3 separate regions of the Homo sapiens genome follow, and regions 1 and 2 are each linked to region 3. The links are contacts of gene promoters, found by promoter capture Hi-C in blood cells and fetal thymus (Javierre and others, 2016). All regions are on one chromosome and are shown on one strand. Each heading gives the region's core, a stretch centred on a gene start or on the middle of the fragment in contact. The rest is flanking DNA. Distances are from core to core; before and after follow the strand shown. Region 1 overlaps MVP (major vault protein). Region 2 overlaps LOC124903673 (a long non-coding RNA gene). Region 3 holds the start of TBC1D10B (TBC1 domain family member 10B).

Region 1 (2,700 bases), core at 201-2,700, 540 kb after region 3:
ACACACACTTCTTCCCCCAAACTGTCTGCACCTAAGTGGACATGAATGTCTCTAAAAGTTCCCCATGTTCTGCTATTATGCTTTCAGGATCAAGCAGCACTGGTTAGTAAAGTCAGTAAGAAAACCATTAAATGGGGCTGGACACGGTGGCTCATGCCTGTAATCCCAGCACTTTGGGAGGCCGAGGCGGGCGGATCATGAGGTCAGGAGATCAAGACCATCCTGGCTAACACGGTGAAACCCCGTCTCTATTAAAAACAAACAAACAAACAAACAAAAAACCCAAAACCATTAAATGGCCAGAAGGTAAAGGTGGAAGAACAGGTAAAGGAATGAAGGTGGGACACCCACCTGCTCAGGCCCAGGCCTGAGGCCAACGGGGACAAGAGCCTGGCTGTAGGTTCAGGCCTGTGATGGCTTCTCCTAGAACAGGCACAGCCTGGGGCCTGGGCTTGTCACTGCTGCTTTGGCACTGCCCACCAGTGTCTGGCACCGGGTGAATGAACTGCTTAACCTTGGCACATGTCATTTAATGCCAGACTGGCTGGGCACTTCTGGTAGGCTCTGGAGCCTGGGAAGGTGAGATGGGCCAACAGTTCTCAGAAAAGAGGCAGGTGTGTTTGGGGCATGTGTGGAGGATGGGGGTGGCTGGAGGTGAGTGGAGGTACAGTGAGTCAATTCCACCCTTGGTGAGAGCCAGCAAGTGTCTCTCCCCACCCCTCCCACTGCCCTGGTTTGTTTTCCCTTTAGAACTCGGTACAGGCCGGGAACAGTGGCTCATGCCTGTAATCCCAGCACTTTGGGAGGCCGAGGCAGGTGGATCACCTGGGGTCGGGAGTTTGAGATCAGACTGGCCAACATGGTGAAACCCTGTCTCTACTAAAAATACAAAAATTAGCCGGGCGTGGTGGCGGGTGCCTGTAATCCCAGCTACTGAGGAAGCTGAGGCAGGAAAATCACTTGAACCCAGGTGGAGCTTCCAGTGAGCCGAGATTATGCCACTGCACTCCAGCCTGGGCGACAAGAGTGAAACTCTGCCTCAAAAAAGAAAAGAAAAAAAGAAGAAGAAGGCAGCAGTATAGAGCCCAAGGCAGGTGGAGGACAGGTAGGGTGGGGCATAGGGAGTGAGGAAACCAGGTACCTTTTCCAGCACCTCCCCTGGGTACAGGGGGAAGGGGTCCTGGGCCAGCCGGATCTCGAGGTCAGCGTGGCGAAGCCGAACTTGCCCTGTGACATCAAACAGCACCAAGCCCTGGGCATCCCGAGACACAGGGTTGGCCACTGTGCAGTAGTGACGTGGGGGGACGGTCACCATGCGCATGGGGGCAAACAGTACCCTGCAGGAAGATGAGAAGAGGTGTGAGGACCTGGGACCAGGTCTCCACTACCAAAGAGGACACCAAATGAGAGAGAAACCTCTCTATCGCCCAAGCGAGGGCCACTCCTGCTTGGGAAGAGGGAGGAGGATAAGGACCATCATGCCAGCCAAACAGGCCCCCACATCCCCAAGGATCCCCCACAGCCCAGCCCCCACACCCACCTCTCATTGTCCTGCCGGATGTAGGTCTTTGGCCCGACCTCCACACGGGACACGTTGCTGTTCTGGTCCAGCACATGGATATAGTGGTATGGGGGGATGCGGATGATGAACTCTTCAGTTGCCATGGTGACTCCTAAGCCCAGGGCTCACAAGAAGATGACTGGTAGGTGGGGGAGACGACACAGGATGAACCTGGGGAGCCTGGGGTGGGGCAGGCATGAATCTGGTGACAGACTCTGGGTGGGATACGGCCCTACCTCCTCCAGCCAGGCCACTGCACCCTTCCCTGTCCGCATCTGCATGCCCACTGCTCCCTGTCTTCACCCCACCCAAGACGACACAGCCCATCCTGACCTTACCTTTGCCAAGAACTGCTTGATGCAGTGAGCCACAGAGGCCCAGGGTTCCTTGCCAATTCCTTTCCCTCACTCCCATCAACTACTTCCCCCTACACTGCCACCGGCACTGCAAAGAGCTTCAGATCAAGGTGCTCCCAGTCTCTTACGGTGGAGAGATACAGCAAGCTGGGAAACTGGGGAGCCATGGAGGTGGTGACATGGCCTTGTCCAGCACGCAATGGGCAGCTGCTCTGAGGAGCTGCCTGGCTCCTCCAGAGGGAGGCAGCCCTTTATTTCAGAGAATCCTGAGGCCCCAGCTGTATTCAAATGTCAGCCCATAGCCAAAGAATATCTGTATGCCTCAGGTAGTCCAGTGGCTAGGATTCGGCCATAAACAAAAGGAATGTTTACATGAGCTGTGTCTATGTTCCCTGCCTCTTTCCTATGCTTTAGTAATCCTGGGCTGAATGTGAAGACCTAGTCCACTGCTCATAAAGGGATCCCAGATGGAACTGAGCCTTCCATAGAACCAGCTGCATTACTAACACTGCAAATCACTCTGGCCCCCTCGTCCCCAGTTCTCTCCCATCCTCAGCTCCTGCAGTTGTGAGCAAGGGTAGGGTGGAAAGGAAGGAGAAGGGGGATGATTATCATGTTCCACCCACCCATCCCACCTGCTTCTGAATCCTGAGTAGTTTCACCCAGTGCTTGGCCTGTTCAGGAATGTCACATGCCCTACCTAAGCCCCACCCCTGCCCCCAGCACTTTGGACTTTGGACATGTCCCTTTGAGTCACACAAATGGGACCAAGTTTACTAGGTG
Region 2 (2,700 bases), core at 185-2,684, 620 kb after region 3:
AAGAAATTACTCATATGTTTAAGCTTCTTACTTAGGTGAATACCTGATTGTCACAGGCTATAAAAATGATTAACAGGGAAGTAACTTGAAATAATGACTATCCTTGCCTAATATCTCAGTTTTCATAAATAATCTAGGGAAACTGTTAAAAATAAAGTATGTAATGGATAATTTATTATAAATAAATTTTTCATGTAATTTTAAATCTTCTATTATGTTCTATTAAATTAACTATTATTCATTAGATGTGTGTATTATTTCCAAGTAAGAAGAAATAACTGAAACAAATTGCTGAACATAAATGTTTTTGGCTGGCTTCTTAAATTTTATAGAATGACTAAATATACTTGGTCTTTTTTTGTTGTTGAGACAGTGTCTTGCTTTGTTTCCCAGGCTGGAGTGTAGTGGTACACCCATAGCTCACTGCAGCCTTGAACTCCTGAGCTCAAGTGATCCTCCCCTCTCAGCCTCCCAAGTAACTAAGACTACAAGCACATGCCATCATGCCTGGCTAATTTTTTGATTTTTTGTAGAAATGGGAGTCTTGCTATGTTACCCAGGCTGGTCTCAAACTCTTGCCCTCAAGCAATCCTCCTGCTTCAGTCTCCCAAAATTGTGGGATTACAAACATGAGCCACCTTGCCTGGCCTTAAACTTTTTTTTTTTTTTTTTGAGACAGAGTCTCGCTCTGTTGTCCAGGGTGGAGTGCAGTGGCATGATCACAGCTTACTGCAACCTCTTCCTCCTGGGTTCAAGCAATTCTCCTGCCTCAGCCTCCTGAGTAGCTGGGATTACAGGCATGTGTCACCACGCCCAGCTAATTTTTTTTTTTTTCCCCAGACAGAGTCTTGCCCTGTCACCCAGGCTGGAGTGCAGTGGCATGATCCCGGCCCACTACAACCTCCACCTCCTGGGTTCAAGCGATTCTCCTGCCTCAGCCTCTCAAGTAGCTGGGACTACAGGCACCTGCCACCAAACCCGGCTAATTTTTGTATTTCTAGTAGAGACAGGGTTTCACCATGTTGGCCAAGTTGGTGTCGAACTCCTGACCTCATGATCCGCCTGCTTTGGCCTCCCAAAGTGCTGGAATTACAGGTGTGAGTCACCTCACCCGGCCTTTTTTGGTATGTTTAGTAGAGACGGGGTTTCGCCATGTTGGTCAGGCTGGCCTCAAACTCCCGACCTTAGGTGATCCACCTGTCTTGGCCTCCCAAAGTGCTGGGATTACAGGCATGAACCATTGTGTAGGGCCTAAACTTGTACGTGATGAAAGAATCAAAACAGCCAGTGATATCTTAGTAAGAAAAAACCATGTCTGATCTTTCCAGTTTTTAATAATGTTAACTCTTCTAAAAGTTTGTTTAAAAAGATTGATTAAAAGAGCACATACAAGTTTTCAGGTTTTGTTTATTTTGATTTTTTTTTTTTTTACAATAAATCATTGTTTGATTGTAGGGAAACACACATAACTGCCAGGCACGGTGGTACACACCTGTAATCCCAGCTACTTGGATGGCTGAAGCAGAAGAATATCTTGAACCCGGGAGGCGGAGGTTGCAGTGAGCCAAGATTGCGTCACCGCACTCCAGCCTGGGCAACAGAGACAGACTCCGTCTCAAAAGAAAAAAAGAAATACATAACATAAAATAACATCAAAGTTACTATCATTTTTCTATATTGACCTCTAGAACAGCCAGAAAGAACATCTTAGTTATTTTTAAGCGTGTTGTTCGCTGGCACTAACTTCAGGTTTGATTTTAAGGCTTGTAATCTGGTAAAATTCTAGCCTCCTCAGGTTTCTGCGAGTGTCCTGAGCCTTAGCTTCCCCCTGTAACTGCCAAAGGGGTTCACCTTGCCCGCTGCCTACACATAGCCGATTCATCAAGACAGCAAAATTGCAATAAAGAGTAATTCACACAGAGCCAGCTGTGCAGGAGACCGGAGTTTTTTTTTTTTTTTTTTTTTTTTTTTTGACGGTTTTGCTCTTTTTGCCCAGGCTGGAGTACAATGGTGCCACCTCGGCTCACTGCAACCTCCGCCTCCAGGGTTTAAGTGATTCTCCTGCCTCAGCCTCCTGAGTAGCTGGGATTACAGGCACTTGCCACCACACCTGGCTAATTTTGTATTTTTAGTAGAGACAGTGTTTTCTCCATGTTGGTCACGCTGGTCTCAAACTCCCAACCTAAGGTGATCCACCGGCCTTGGCCTCCCAAATTGCTGAAATTACAGGCGTGAGCCACTGTGTCCAGCCAGGAGTTTTATTATTACTCAAATCAGTCTCCCTGAGCATTCGGGAAACAGAGGGTTTTTTTGTTTGTTTTTGTTTTGTTTTTTTGAGATGGAGTCTTGCTCTGTCGCCCAGGCTTGAGGGCAGTGGCGCAATCTCGGCTCACTGCAAGCTCCGCCTCCCAGGTTCATGCCATTCTCCCGCCTCAGCCTCCCAAGTAGCTGGGAGTAGCTGGGACTAGCTGGGACTACAGGCATCCGCCAACACGCCTAATAAATTTTTTGTATTTTTAGTAGAGATGGGGTTTCACCGTGTTAGCCAGGATGGTCTCGATCTCCTTGTGTCCAGAATTGGCGGGTTCTTGGTCTCACTGACTTCAAGAATGAAGCTGCGGACCCTCACGGTGAGTGTTTCAGTTCTTAAAGGCGGCATGTCCGGAGTTTGTTCCTTCTGATGTTCGGACGTGTTCCGAG
Region 3 (2,955 bases), core at 22-2,521:
TGAGGGGAGAGGGGTTGACGGGACTGGGGCCTTGGATCCCCAAAAGAATAGTAACACACATATGGGGAGTTCATGGTATTAGGGATTCATGGATTTGGGGTTTGAGATCCCCACTAGAAGAAATGGAGGGGGTACTCAGAGGGATAAGGTCTGAGGAACTGGAGCCTGGGTTCTGGGGAGGAGCTCAGATAGATGGGAACTGAGGAGAGGGACTTGGAGGTTGGGATTCCCGCAGGAAATGGGTGAAGCAGAGATATGGGTTGCTTATAGGATCTGGGGGCTCTGGCTATTGCCACCTGGGCCTGGAGTGTTGGGGTTAGTTGGGGGCCGAGATCGGAGAATTATAGAGTAAAGGATGAGAGTACTGGGTCAGGGCACTGGATCTGTGGTGGGGCTCAGGGTCCCACAGACCACCAGAGTGTGGGGCTCAGGAGCTGAACGAAGAATAGGGGACCGGAAAGGACTCGAGAGGGGGCAGCGCGGCACTCATTGGTTGAGGGCTGCACTAATGCCCCCGCCCCTTCTCCGTGCTGTCCCCAGCTGTCACCCTCCCATAAGGCTTGTCTCCGGTTGTCACCGACTATCCCTGGGCTGGCACCGCCTGCTGGCAGCATCTTTGCCCTTTGGATGCTCCCATTGGCTGAGACAGCTATCTATTTTCCTGTCCTGTGGCCAAAGTGGGAGAACACGATCATTGGCTGACGGGGCGAATTAATCTCTAGCTTGCCCCGCCTCCTCCCAGCTGTCATTCCTTACTGACCATTTTGGGAGACCTAAAGAATTCTTCAGCTCTTCCTATTGACTGCGGATGCTGTCTGTCACCGCCTAAATAGACATCACTGCCTGTCAATTTGACCTCCACCTGCTCCCCTTTTCATTGGCTCCCTTTTTACCATTCCTATTGGTTAAGAAGCCTCCAGGCCCCACCTCTTACTCGCACAGCCCTGCCTCCTCCTCCGCCCTTCCGCGGTCATTCACCCTTCAGTCATATTCATTGGCCAGGAGGTTCAGACCCCTGCGTTTCTATTGGTTATTTCTTTCGTCCCATCGCCCCCTGCCTTTCCTCGTCCTCTGATTGGTCTTACAGCCCTAGCTTTCTCCGTTTCCTCTTTCCAGATGACCCACCCCTTTTTCGCCTCCAGCCCCGCCCACGATTCCAACGATTGGCAGAAGCCCAGTTCTCTCTCTCCCACTATTCGTCCAAATCCTCTGACTAGGCGGGAGAAAAAAGGAGCGCGATGAGCCAGTCCGCGCGCAGGCGTGGAACGCCGAGACGCTGGCGCGGAGCCGGCTCTGCGGCGTGTGCGCAGGCGCGAGGTCGGCGGCTCGCCCCCAAGCAGGAGGGAGGGGGCGGTGGCGAGAGCGCGCGAGGGGGTGAGAGGGCTCGAGAGAGACCCCGGCGCGCGGCGCCCCCCGACCCCTGCCCCGCCTCTGCGCGCCCAGCGGCCGCTCCGCCCCCGGCGCGCGCCGAGCCGCGCCCTTCGCCCTCTCCCCTTTCTCGGCTGGCCTCGCCGGGAGGCCCGAGGGGCGGCGCCTTCTGCGGCCTCCCCGGCGGGGGGATGTGAGGGGCGGCCCGCGGCCATGGAGACGGGCACGGCGCCCCTGGTGGCCCCGCCGCGCCGTCATGGCGCCCCCGCGGCCCCCTCGCCGCCGCCCCGGGGTTCCCGGGCCGGGCCCGTCGTGGTGGTGGCTCCGGGACCTCCAGTGACTACGGCCACTTCGGCCCCCGTCACCCTGGTGGCCCCCGGGGAGGCGCGGCCCGCCTGGGTCCCGGGGTCGGCCGAGACCTCTGCTCCGGCCCCGGCCCCAGCCCCGGCCCCAGCCCCGGCTGTCACGGGCAGCACGGTGGTGGTGCTGACCCTGGAGGCCTCGCCCGAAGCCCCAAAGCCGCAGCTCCCCTCCGGCCCGGAATCCCCAGAGCCCGCGGCAGTGGCTGGAGTTGAGACATCGAGGGCTCTGGCCGCAGGGGCAGACTCGCCGAAGACAGAGGAGGCTCGACCCTCACCCGCCCCAGGACCAGGGACCCCCACCGGGACCCCTACCAGGACCCCTTCCAGAACGGCTCCTGGTGCCCTGACCGCCAAACCCCCGCTTGCCCCCAAGCCGGGAACCACAGTGGCCTCAGGAGTGACTGCACGGAGTGCATCAGGACAAGTGACAGGTGGGCATGGAGCTGCCGCAGCAACATCAGCATCAGCAGGACAGGCTCCTGAGGACCCCTCAGGCCCTGGCACAGGCCCCTCTGGGACTTGTGAGGCTCCGGTAGCTGTCGTGACCGTGACCCCAGCTCCGGAGCCTGCTGAAAACTCTCAAGACCTGGGCTCCACGTCCAGCCTGGGACCTGGCATCTCTGGGCCTCGAGGGCAGGCCCCGGACACGCTGAGTTACTTGGACTCCGTGAGCCTCATGTCTGGGACCTTGGAGTCCTTGGCGGATGATGTGAGCTCCATGGGCTCAGATTCAGAGATAAACGGGCTGGCCCTGCGCAAGACGGACAAGTATGGCTTCCTTGGGGGCAGCCAGTACTCGGGCAGCCTGTGAGTACCAGTGGGCACCCAGCGGGACCGCCTCGGGGAAGCAAAGGTTGGGGGAGGGCGAAACGAAAACGATACACTTTGCCCAGACTCTGGCAGCCCAGCCTCCTCTGAGGATCCACGGGGTGATCAGCGCGAGCTGCCGTGTCTTGAGCATCCTGAGGTGCCTGTGACATTGGCATGTTAGTGGAGTTTCAGACCAGGGGTCAAGAGGTCTGGGTTTAAGCCTTGCCTTTGATGGGTTGTGTGCCCTTGAGCTAGTGGCTTCCCCATTTCCGTGCCTCAGTTTTTTCCTCTATAAAGTGGATTGAATGAGATGATACCTGAGGTCATCCCTGCTCTTTGATGGGGAACTCCAGCTACAGGCCGGATATTCTGGAGGGTTGGTTGGGCGAGGGTTCTGGTAGAGACCCTTGGTCCC

What was found. The method cuts DNA at HindIII sites, captures the fragments that hold promoters and counts their contacts. A CHiCAGO score of 5 or more calls a contact.
Region 1: a contact is called between a fragment that was not itself captured here and the fragment with the promoter of TBC1D10B in region 3, in 1 of 17 cell types (naive CD8 T cells). The highest score is 5.2, in naive CD8 T cells.
Region 2: a fragment that was not itself captured here is called in contact with the fragment with the promoter of TBC1D10B in region 3 in 1 of 17 cell types (neutrophils); the score reaches 5.1 in neutrophils.

Annotation. Positions count from the first base shown.
Region 1 is chr16:29,829,515-29,832,214 of GRCh38, reverse strand. MVP (major vault protein) reads right to left here. Exons shown (of 15, transcript NM_005115.5): 2 at 1,541-1,700; 3 at 1,142-1,337. The coding sequence starts at 1,665. Among named protein-coding and RNA genes, the nearest start is that of MVP, 10 kb to the right of the region's middle. The HindIII fragment of the contact is 3,992 bases long and covers 1-2,700 here.
Region 2 is chr16:29,749,187-29,751,886 of GRCh38, reverse strand. It overlaps LOC124903673 (a long non-coding RNA gene), which reads right to left. Exons shown (of 2, transcript XR_007065046.1): 2 at 2,245-2,700. Among named protein-coding and RNA genes, the nearest start is that of C16orf54, 4.5 kb to the right of the region's middle. The HindIII fragment of the contact is 2,817 bases long and covers 26-2,700 here.
Region 3 is chr16:30,368,810-30,371,764 of GRCh38, reverse strand. It overlaps TBC1D10B (TBC1 domain family member 10B), which reads left to right and starts at 1,271. Exons shown (of 9, transcript NM_015527.4): 1 at 1,271-2,537. The coding sequence starts at 1,582. It also overlaps a transcript of MYL11 not described here. RefSeq lists silencers at 1,386-1,675, 1,766-1,845. The HindIII fragment of the contact is 4,560 bases long and covers 1-2,955 here.